3 separate regions of the Homo sapiens genome follow, and regions 1 and 3 are each linked to region 2. The links are contacts of gene promoters, found by promoter capture Hi-C in blood cells and fetal thymus (Javierre and others, 2016). All regions are on one chromosome and are shown on one strand. Each heading gives the region's core, a stretch centred on a gene start or on the middle of the fragment in contact. The rest is flanking DNA. Distances are from core to core; before and after follow the strand shown. Region 1 overlaps TMC7 (transmembrane channel like 7). Region 2 holds the start of SYT17 (synaptotagmin 17). Region 3 overlaps SYT17 (synaptotagmin 17).

Evidence for each region. The method cuts DNA at HindIII sites, captures the fragments that hold promoters and counts their contacts. A CHiCAGO score of 5 or more calls a contact.
Region 1: a contact is called between a fragment that was not itself captured here and the fragment with the promoter of SYT17 in region 2, in 1 of 17 cell types (monocytes). The highest score is 5.9, in monocytes.
Region 3: a contact is called between a fragment that was not itself captured here and the fragment with the promoter of SYT17 in region 2, in 1 of 17 cell types (M1 macrophages). The highest score is 5.1, in M1 macrophages.

Annotation. Positions count from the first base shown.
Region 1 is chr16:19,058,590-19,061,884 of GRCh38, forward strand. TMC7 (transmembrane channel like 7) reads left to right here. Exons shown (of 16, transcript NM_024847.4): 15 at 827-905; 16 at 3,189-3,295. The coding sequence ends at 3,254. Among named protein-coding and RNA genes, the nearest start is that of COQ7, 7.4 kb to the right of the region's middle. The HindIII fragment of the contact is 3,685 bases long and covers 1-3,295 here.
Region 2 is chr16:19,166,485-19,170,024 of GRCh38, forward strand. SYT17 (synaptotagmin 17) reads left to right here and starts at 1,756. Exons shown (of 8, transcript NM_016524.4): 1 at 1,756-2,177. The coding sequence starts at 2,163. RefSeq lists a silencer at 1,152-1,401 and an enhancer at 1,593-2,340. The HindIII fragment of the contact is 5,386 bases long and covers 1-3,002 here.
Region 3 is chr16:19,260,956-19,264,397 of GRCh38, forward strand. The region is part of intron 7 of SYT17 (synaptotagmin 17); the gene reads left to right. Among named protein-coding and RNA genes, the nearest start is that of CLEC19A, 23 kb to the right of the region's middle. The HindIII fragment of the contact is 587 bases long and covers 1,015-1,601 here.

The sequences.
Region 1 (3,295 bases), core at 428-2,927, 110 kb before region 2:
TCTGCAAATTTTAATATTAAAAGTAAAAAGCAAGGCATAAGTCAGATTCTGCTGCCACTGCCAAATAAAAACTTCAGTAGCTGTTTCTTATACCCTCTGCTTGGAAGAGATGAGGGTTTTCTTTATTTTTTGTGGAGACAGGGTCTGGCTCTGTTGCCCAGTCTGGAGTATGGTAATGTGATCATAGCTCACTGCAGCCTTGAACTTCTGGGCTCAGATTCTCCCACCTTAGCTTCCTGAGTAGCTGGGGACTACAGGCTCACGCCACCATGTCTGGCTAATTTTACATTTTCTTTTCCTTTTTTTTAGACGGAGGCTTGCTCTGCCGCCCAGGCTGGAGTGCAGTGATGCGATCTCAGCTCACTGCAACCTTTGCCTCTTGGGTTCAAGGGATTCTCCTGTCTCAGCCTCCTGAGTAGCTGGGATTATAGGCGTCCACCACCACGCCCAGCTAACTTTTGTATTTTTAGTAGAGACGGGGTTTCACCATGTTGGTCAGGCTGGTCTCAAATTCCTGACCTCAGGTGATCCGCCTGCCTCGGCCTCCCAAAGTGCTGGGATTACAGGTGTGAGCCACTGCGCCCGGCCATATTTTATTTTTCTAGAGGTGGGGCTCTCCCTATGTTGCCTGGGCTGGTCTCAAACTCCCAGCCTTAAGTGATCCTTCTGCCTGGGCAAAGCACTGGTATTATAAAATGAGCCATCATGCCCAGCCTTCTTTTCTAACAAGAGTAAAACTGTTCCAAGGAAAAATATGTTGGGTTATTTTTCTATTGGCCTTCAGATGATCCAGACTCCCTTGTGACCTGTCTGTCTTGTGTTGCAGCCTCATCATGTTTTACTTCATTGCCTTAGCTGGAGCACACAAACGGGTGGTCATCCAGCTCCGAGAGCAGCTATCCCTGGTAAGGAAGCATAGCTCCAGAGGGTCATGGCTGGGGACATTTACCCAGGACACTGCAAGGAAAGTGCTGTTTTCCTGGGAGGGAGTGAAATTACTGCAGCCTTCTCTCACCACCACCTCCCCAAAACTCTGCCTTGAGGCCCAGCCGCGTCCAGCTTCATTAATTCACTGATTCATCCATTCCTTCAAGATGTGTATTAAGGGGGATGTGGTGGCTCATGCCTGTAATCCCAGCACTTTTGGGAGGCCGAGGCAGGCAGATTACTTGAGCTCAGGAGTTCAAGACCAGCCTGGCCAACATGGTGAAACCCCGTCTCTACTAAAAATACAAAAAGTAGTTGGGCGTGGTGGTGGGCACCTGTAATCCCAGCTACTTGGGAGGCTGAGGCAGGAGAATCCCTTGAACTCAGGAGGTGGAGGTCGCAGTGAGCTGAGATTGCGCTATTGCACTCCAGCCTGGGTGACAGAGTGAGACTCCATCTTAAAAATAAAAATAAAAAAAGATGTGTATTAAGTACCTACTCTGTGCCTTGTACTATGCTGGGTGCTGGGACGCTTTGGTGAACAAGAGACAAAGCTGCTGGGTAGTTAATAAGATAAATGCTGATTAATTATAGCTTCTATGAAGACAATAAAAACAAGGTAGAGTGACAAGCGGGCTATCAGTTACTGCAGATGCGGCTGTAGAAGGCTTCTTTGAGGAGGTGATTTTTTTTTATTTTTTTATTCAGGACGGGGTCTCACTCTCTCGCCCAGGCTGGAGTGCGATTGTGTGGTCATAGCTCACAGCAGCCTCAAACTCTTGGTCTCAAGCCATCCTCCCACCTTAGCCTCCCAAGTAGCTGGGACTACAGGCGTGCATCACCATGCCTGGCTAATTTTTAAATTTTTTATAGACATGAGGTCTCCCTATGTTGCCCAGGCTGGTCTTGAACTCCTGGGCTCAAGTGATTGTCCCCTCTCAGTTCCCCAAAGTGCTGGGATTACAGGCATGAGCCACTATGCCTGGACCCTAGCTGAGACTTGAATAATAGAGAGAGGAGCCCATTATCTGAGGTCCTATTTAAGGATGAAAGTAAGAGGCAAAGAGCACAGTAAAGAAATGAGCCAGGCACTTCAGGGGGACAGGAGGGAGGGGACAGTGTGGCCACAGGGTGGTGAGTGATGGGAAGAGGCAAGGTGATATTGTAATAGCAACCAGAGTCATCAAGTCACAGTGCCTTGAGGGCTCTGTTTAGAGTTTTATTCTGAGTGGGATGGGAAGCTGCTGAAGGGTTTGTAAGAGTCTACTGTGCATTTTTTTTTTTTTTTGAGACAGAGTCTTGCTCTGTCACCCAGTCTGGAGTGCAGTGCCGCAATTTCAGCTCACTGCAACCTCCACCTCCCGGGTTCAATTGATTCTCCTTCCTCAGCCTCCCAAGTAGCTGGGATTACAGGCACCCACCATCACAACCGGCTAACTTTTGTATTTTTAGTAGAGAAGGGGTTTCACCATGATGGCCAGTCTTTTTTTTTTTTTTTTTCCTTTGAGACAGGGTCTCACTCTGTCGCCCAGGCTGGAGTGCAGTGGTGTGATCTCAGTTCACTGCAACCTCCACCTCCTGGGTTCAAGCAATTCTCCTGCCTCAGCATCCCAAGTAGATGGGATTACAGGCACCTGCCACCACGCCCGGCTAATTTTTTGTATTTTTAGTAGAGACGGGGTTTCGGGGTTTCACCTTGTTGGCCAGGCTGGTCTCGAACTCCTGACCTCAGGTGGTCCACCTGCCTCGGCCTCCCAAAGTGCTGAGATTACAGGCGTGAGCCACCTCGCCTGGCCTAATTTTTGTATTTTTAGTAGAGGTGGGGTTTCACCACGTTGGTCAGGCTGGTCTGAAACTTCTGACCTCAGGTGATCCACCTGCCTTGGCCTCCCAAAGTGCTGGGATTACAGGTGTGAGCCACCTCACCCGGCCTAATTTTTGTATTTTTAGTAGAGATGGGGTTTTACTATATTGGTCAGGCTGGTCTCAAACTTCTGACCTCAGGTGATCCACCTGCCTCGGCCTCCCAAAGTGCTGGGATTACAGGCATGAGCCACCGTGTCCAGCTGTACTGTGCATTTTTTAAAAAAAGGATCGGCTGCTTTGTGGACAAGGGGCTGTGGAGCAGACACAATGACAGACCAGATGAGAGGCCATTACAATAGTCCAGTGGTTAGAATCCTCAGCCCTCAGTCTGGTAGGTAATGATGGTATTTGTTTCCAAATATATTAAATGTACATGTGAACTTATTATTTTTTAGGAAAGTCGTGACAAGTGCTACCTAATCCAGAAACTAACAGAAGCCCAAAGGGACATGAGGAACTAACTAGACTGAGCGTGAAGATGGTGCTGCCTGTTGCTTCTAAG
Region 2 (3,540 bases), core at 506-3,005:
ATTTTTACTTATGGGAACACCTAGCAAATTCCTCGAACTCCCTCAAGTGCCCCCAAGGAGCACCCGTTCCAATAGGCATCCTCCTCTGTGAGGCTCACTCCCCACCTGGCATGCCTTGCCATCAGTGCTGGAGAAAGATTGTGGATAAATACCACAAAGTGGTTAGGAGTGGCCACTTTGGGTTCACTGCTGGACTTGTGGGTTCAAATGTCAGTGCCCTGGGCTACCAGCTGTCAGGCCTTCATAGAGGCTTTACCTGTCTGGGCTGCAGTCCCTCATAAATTGGAGATAATCATAGCACCTCCCTCAGGAAGCAGAGTGAATAAGGCAACAAAAACAATTACTGAGTGCCTACTCTGGCTGGACAGGTGCTACCTAATAGGAGTGATCAAGGTACTGCAGGTTGAAATGAAATAACGCTTGTGAAGTGTTGAGGCGTGTATGCCTGCAGAATCATAAGCACTCAATATGCGTTACGTGCTATATGCTACAAACTAAATATATCATACTAAAAAATGTATAGGTCTGCTAGATTTTTAGACAAAAAATATATGCATCTGAATATCCATCTTTTGTTACTCCCATATTCATTTTCTCATTTATTCCCACAAATCAGCCCTGGAGGATAGGCAGGGTGGAGATTTTCTCCTGTTTTTACTGAGGAAAAAGAGGCACTGGGAGGTTAAAATTAAAATGCTGATAAGCTGGTGTCCGGCAACAGGAGATGACTGGGCATATTAAAAAGAAAACCGGCCCGGCGCAGTGGCTCACGCCCCTAATCCCAGCACTTTGGGAGGCCGAGGCAGGCAGATCACTTGAGGCCAGGAGTTCGAGACCAGCCTGGCCCACATGGTGAAACCCTTTCTCTACCAAAAATACAAAAATTAGTGGGCGTGGTGGCATGTGCCTGTAGTCCCAGCTACTCGGGAGGCTGAGACACGAGAATCCCTTGAACCTGGGAGGCGGAGGTTTCAGTGAGCCAAGATTACCCCAGTGCACTCCAGCCTGGGTGACAGAGTGACACCCTGTGTCAAAAATAAAATAAAATAAAATAAAATAAAATAAAATAAAATAAAATAAAATAAAATAAAATAAAATAAGAAATCCAGCGGAGGGCAATGTTCCACCTCGAATCTCTGAGTGGAGAGCCAGAGGCCTTGGGCTGGGAGGTTTGATGGAGGCCTCTGGGTCCAGGGCGCCCCAGCCACGAGGACAGGCAGGAGGGCGGCGGTGGACACGCCCCGGGGCGCACGCTCGCTGGCGGCCGCCTGCCCGTGGGCAGAGGAGCGCACGAGGCCGGGCACGACGCTGGGTGGCGCTGCCGGGCCGCCCCGCGCTAGACCTGTTGCGTCCAGGGCGCAACTCCGGCAGGTTTAGGGTAAAGGGGCGCTCCGCTCTCTCCGCGCGCCCCCTGCAGCCCTGGACGCAGCACCTCCGTTTGGGACGCCCTACGCCCACCTTAACTTGAGGCTCCCATCCACGCAGCCTCTGCAAGCCTCACCGCAACCGTGCTAGGCGCGTCGGGTGGGGCGGGAATAAAGTTTTTCCAACCCAGTTTGGGGAGAGGGCTGGATGGGAAGGACCCTCCCTGCTGCAGACTTCATGGCAGGCTGCACTGTGTCCCCTCGGCTCCACGGCTGCCCCGGGGGCGCTGCTTTCGGTAGGTGCCAGCCCCCGTGCCAGCAGGATGGGCTGACCTGTGTACCGCCCCCTCCCACCCCCTTCCCCATTCCCATCCCCTCCCCCGCCTCCTGCGCGCTCCGGCCCCGGCGTCTCCGGCCCCGCCTGCGCTGGGGTCGCTGCAGTCCCCGCAGCTGCCCCGGGCTGCTTGCCCAGGCGCCCCGGCCTTATTCCAGCCTGGGGAGCGCCTCGGTGGGGAGCACGGGACAGCGAGGGAGGCCGAGGCGGGGGCCCTGGGCGCCCGATATCTCCGAACCGGGGAGGCGGCCCCGATTCCGAGAGCCGGAACGCAGGGAAAGGCAAGGACGGGGCGGCCGGCGGAGGGGCGGGCGCCGCTCATCAGCCACGCCAGTCACGTCTGGGGCCACCGGCTGCCTTTTTCTTCCTTTCCCCCTTTGCTTTCTTCCCCCTCCGCTGTTGGCGAGGGCAAAGTGGCCGTGGCGGCGCCATGCCCGGGCCGGAGTGAGTGCGCGCGGGCGAAAATGGCGTACATCCAGGTAGGGCTGAGGCTGGGGGCAAGGTCCGGGGTGCGGGTAGGGGGTGCCGCGCCCCCTCCGGCTGGGAGCGCGCGGAAGGGAGGGCCCACGGCTAGGCTCCCACAAACTTGCTTCGAGAAAAAGGGTGCCCGTGCGCGGGCAACCTGTGCAGCAACAGGGGTGCGCCCCGGGAGGAGAGACTGGGGACCCCCAAACCCCGGGATGGAGGGTCCTATGTGTACTCTGCAACGCGCGCCCTTGCCTCTTGGGGAGGGAATGGGGGGTGGGGCGGACTTTTCTTCTCCCCTGCCCCCTCCCTCTCCTTGGCACCCCACCCCAGGGGAGGGGCCGTGGGGAGGGCGGCCCGGGGCGCGCCAGCCACCCGGCCCGCCAGCTGCCGTTGCCGTGGTGACGGCTCCGGCTAATTGGCCGGCGGAGCGAGCCTGAGGCAGCTGTTCCGACCAGGAGGGACAAGGACGTCGTCTCTCCTGGGCACTGGGTGCTGAGGGGTGGGGGACACCCAGAGGCCAGAGGCGCGCTGGTGAAGAGAAGGGAGCCTGTTACTTTACTCCGCTGCATTGGGGTCTGGGAGATGTGGACCCTCTTCACCTTGAAGAAACGTCCCCCAAGAATCCTTGGGCTGAAATAATTCTGAAATAATTTCTAAGCAGCCTTTTTTGGGGGGAGGGGGCGGAGGGGTGGGCCGGGCTTCTTGGTGAAAAGACCTTTCTCCTCTGCAAGAAGGGAAGTGACCGCAGGTCAGCGCCAAGGTCAAGCAGGCAGACCCGCAGTGAGACCCGTTGAGCTGCTTGCTTCTGGCGCTGGCGCCTCTGAGCTGGGCAGAGAAGCTTACAGACTCCCACGTCCAGGGTGCATCTTGGCTCACATCTTGTCCCCTCAGCCACAGCTGGGGGTGCTGCTGGTCCTCCCATTCCCCTCTGGGTCACATATCCCCTCATCGTGTCCTCAGACGCTTCAGCCTGCCGGGAACTCTGTGCTGTGTCACCTGGCGGAGCCTCTTCCATTCATCTCCTGCCTTAGATTCCCTGAATTGGCTTCCCTTTCGTGGAATCGCCAGTTTCTCTTCAAGTTCAATGAAGGTCACATTACTGTCCACCCACTGTGTGCTGAATGTTGTCCAGGGGCTATTGAGTAGTCGCCCAACAAACACTTGGGCGACCGCCTACTAAGTGCTGGCACTGGGGATACAGTGATGAAAACAGCACAGTTCCTGCCCCTCTGGGTGCGCAATTTAGTGAGAAATGAACATGATTACCGGCTCCTGGAGTTCTTAATGGCCGCCTTCAGCACAGAGAAATTAAGTGACTTGCCCAAGGCCACATAGCTGCTTAGGGGTCAAGGTGGGATCTCAAGAGGGGACTGT
Region 3 (3,442 bases), core at 58-2,557, 94 kb after region 2:
GTTATCTGACCCACTGTCCCTAAGCCCCTTTCTGGATTCCACATGTCTAGTCTTTAAAAAAAAATTGTAGAAAGAGAGTCTTACTATGTTGCCCAAGCTGGTCTCGAACTCCTGGGCTCAAGAGATCCTCCCACCTTGACCTCCCAAAGTGCTGGGATTACAGGTGTGAGCCACTGCACCTGGCCCCTGACATGTCTAGTTTTAATTCTCTATTTTCTCCAACACACTTAGAATTTACAGTGATGGCAATCTTGATATTCTCCCAGGCAACTTTCTAATAGAAGTTATTACTTATCTTCAGCTTCACTTTATTATAATTTGCATTTTAAATTTTTTTAAGACTGTTAAGATTGCCATAACTTTACCAAGTGATTTGCAATTTACACTGCCTGCTAATTAACTCAGATGGCCATGGCAGGAACTGCCTCCCATCAGAAAGGCTGAATCACTCAAGCGCTCCCACCTTTCAAGGGCCAAGTGATTCACCAGCCAAGTTACTTTACAAATTGGGATGAGGAGCATAGGATATTAGACTTCCTTTTAGTTTTCATCCTTTCTGGTGATTTAGTTGTGGATTCTCTAACAGTGACTTATTTTTCCTTTGTTTTCTTTCCAAAATAATATGTACTTTCTGTAAGAAGTTCAAACTGTACATACTTATTGATACAGAAAGTGGACATTTTCCTCTGTTTCCCCCTTCCCAGAGAGAGCCACTCTGAACAGTGGTGAACATCCATATTGTTTTCTTCAGGTATATTAACATTCTTTTTAACAAAAAGATTGTGCTTACATATACTGTTTTGTAATGTGCTTTTGTCTCCTAGCAATATGTGTTGGAGATTTTTCCATTTCATATAGATAAGTCTGTCTCATTTTTAATGGCAACATGGATTTCCGTGGTATTATTATCTCAGAAGTTATTTAATTCATTTCCTCCAGTCTTATTCTAGGTACCTCCCAAAGACAAACTTAGTGACATGAGCTCAAGTAGGCTACTAGGAGGTGACCTCAGGAAGCTTGAATAAGGGAATGGCAAATAAGACAGGAAAAGGAGGAAAACAAATCAAGGATGTTTGGCGAGTGGATATCTGCAGTATAGGGGGTCTTCAAAATCACCCTCAGGTCCAATGATTCACCACAGAACTTGGAAAAACTGTTATTCTCATGGTTACAGTTTATTACAGAAAAAGCATACAGACCAAAATCAGCAAAGTGAAAGATTGCTGCTATGGTCTGAATGTTTTGTTCCCCCAAAATTCTTATGTTGAATCCTAATCCCCATGTGGGAGGTGATTAGACCATGAAGGCTCTGTCCTCATGAATGGGGTTGGTGCCCTTATAACAGAAACCCAAGAGAACTGTCTTGCTGCTTCTATTGCATGAGAAGGCACCACCTATGAAGGAGAGCAAGCCCTCACCAGACACTGAATCTGCTGGTACCTTGATCTGGGACTTCCTAGCTTCTGGAACCATTAGGAAATAAATTCCTGTTGTTTATAAGCCTCCCTGTTTATGGTAATTTGTTATAGCAGCCCAGCAGACTAAGAAAGGGGAAAGAGTCCTCTTTGTCATAGGAAAAAGTCCAAGAGAGACCAGATGCAAGCTTCCAGTTGTTCTCCTCAACTGGAGTTATACGAGCAGTGCCTAATTCTCCTTGCAAGGATGTGTGACAACACACTTAGGGTATTGCCACCCAAGAAGACTCACCTGAGCCTTGGTGTCCAGCATAGTTAGAGGACGTTGGTCATATAGTCATGGCTGACCATCTGGGTAGCTGAGCCTCCTTGCAGAGGTAGCTTGCAGAGGTCCAGCTAATGTTGAGTGGCCCAAGGTCCTCACCATAAATCACAGTTAGCACAGACAAGCTGGCATGGCTCAGGCAGGAAGCTGCAGGTGCTTGAGGAAGGACACTATCTATAGAAACCATGAGTAGCCTCCAAGGTGGGCTGAGGGGTAGGCAGGGCACCAACAGCCCCAGCTACACTCCCTCAGGGACAGTCTTGCCATTTCCCGTTTTTCATTCTTATAAACAATGCCCTGGTGCAGGGGTCAGCAAACTTTTCTATAAGGAGTCAGATAATCTTTTTTTTTTTTTTGTATTCCCTTTTGGCAATTTGTTTAATTGAGATAAAATTCACATAACTTAAAACTCACCCTTTTGGTGTATACGATTCAGTGCTTTTTAGTATATTTTCAAGATTGTGCAACCAACACCACTATCTAATTCCAGAACATTTTTATCACCCCAAAAAGGAGCCCTGTGCCAATTAGCTATCACACCCCATTCCCTCTTTCCTCTATCCTTGATAACCACTAATGGTAATTTCTGTCTCTAAAGATCTGCCTATTCTGGACATTTCATATAAATGGATCATAATATATGACCTTAAAAACTTGGTACATAGGCCAGCCATGGTGACTTATGCCTGTAATCCCAGCATTTTGGAAGGCCGAGGTGGGCAGATCACCTGAGGTCAGGAGTTCAAGACCAGCCTGCCCAATGTGGCAAAACCCTGTCTCTACTAAAAATACAAAAATTAGCCAGGCATGGTGGTGGGCACCTGTACCCAGCTACTTGGGAGTCTGAGGCAGGAGAATCACTTGAGCCCGGGAGGCAGAGGTTGCAGTGAGCCGAGATCACGCCACTGCATCCCAGCCTGGGTGACAACAGTGAAATTACAACTCAAAAAAAAAAAAAAAAAAGAAAAGAAAAAAAAAACTTGGACATAAATGTTTACAGTAGCATTATCCATAATAATAGTCAAAATGTGGAAACAACCCAAATGTCCATCATCTGATGAACAGATAAGCAAAACATGGCATATCCATACAATGGAACGTTAGCTGGCCATAAAAAGTAGCACTACAACATGGATGAACCAGACAGATAGCAGATATGTGAGGCTTTGAGAGCCACATGGCCTCCAAATTATTCAGCTGCTGTGGTCTGAATAGTTGTCCCCCACCCTGCCAAATTTGTATGTTGAATTCCTAACCCACAAAGTGATGGCATTAGGAGGCGGGACCTTTGGGAGATGATTAGGTCATGAAGGTTGGAGCCCTCATAATTGGGATTAGTGCCCTTATAGAAGATGCCCCAGAGAACTAGCCTGTCCCTTCCACCATGTGGGGACTCAGTGAGAAGATACCACCTATGAGGAAGCAGCTTCTCACCAGACACCGAATTTGCCAGTGGCTTGATCTTGAACTTCCCAGCCTCCAGAACTGTGAGCAATAAGTTTTTGTTGTTTATAAGCCACCCAGTTTATGGCATTTTGTTACAGCGGCCTGAATGGACTAAGACATCAACTCTGCCCTTTTTGCACAAAAGCAGCATTATGTAAACAAATGGGTTTGACTGTGTTCCAATAAAACTTTATTTACAAAAACAGGTAGTAGTCCATATTTGACTGGGAGGCTCTAGTTTGCCCATTCCTGCTAT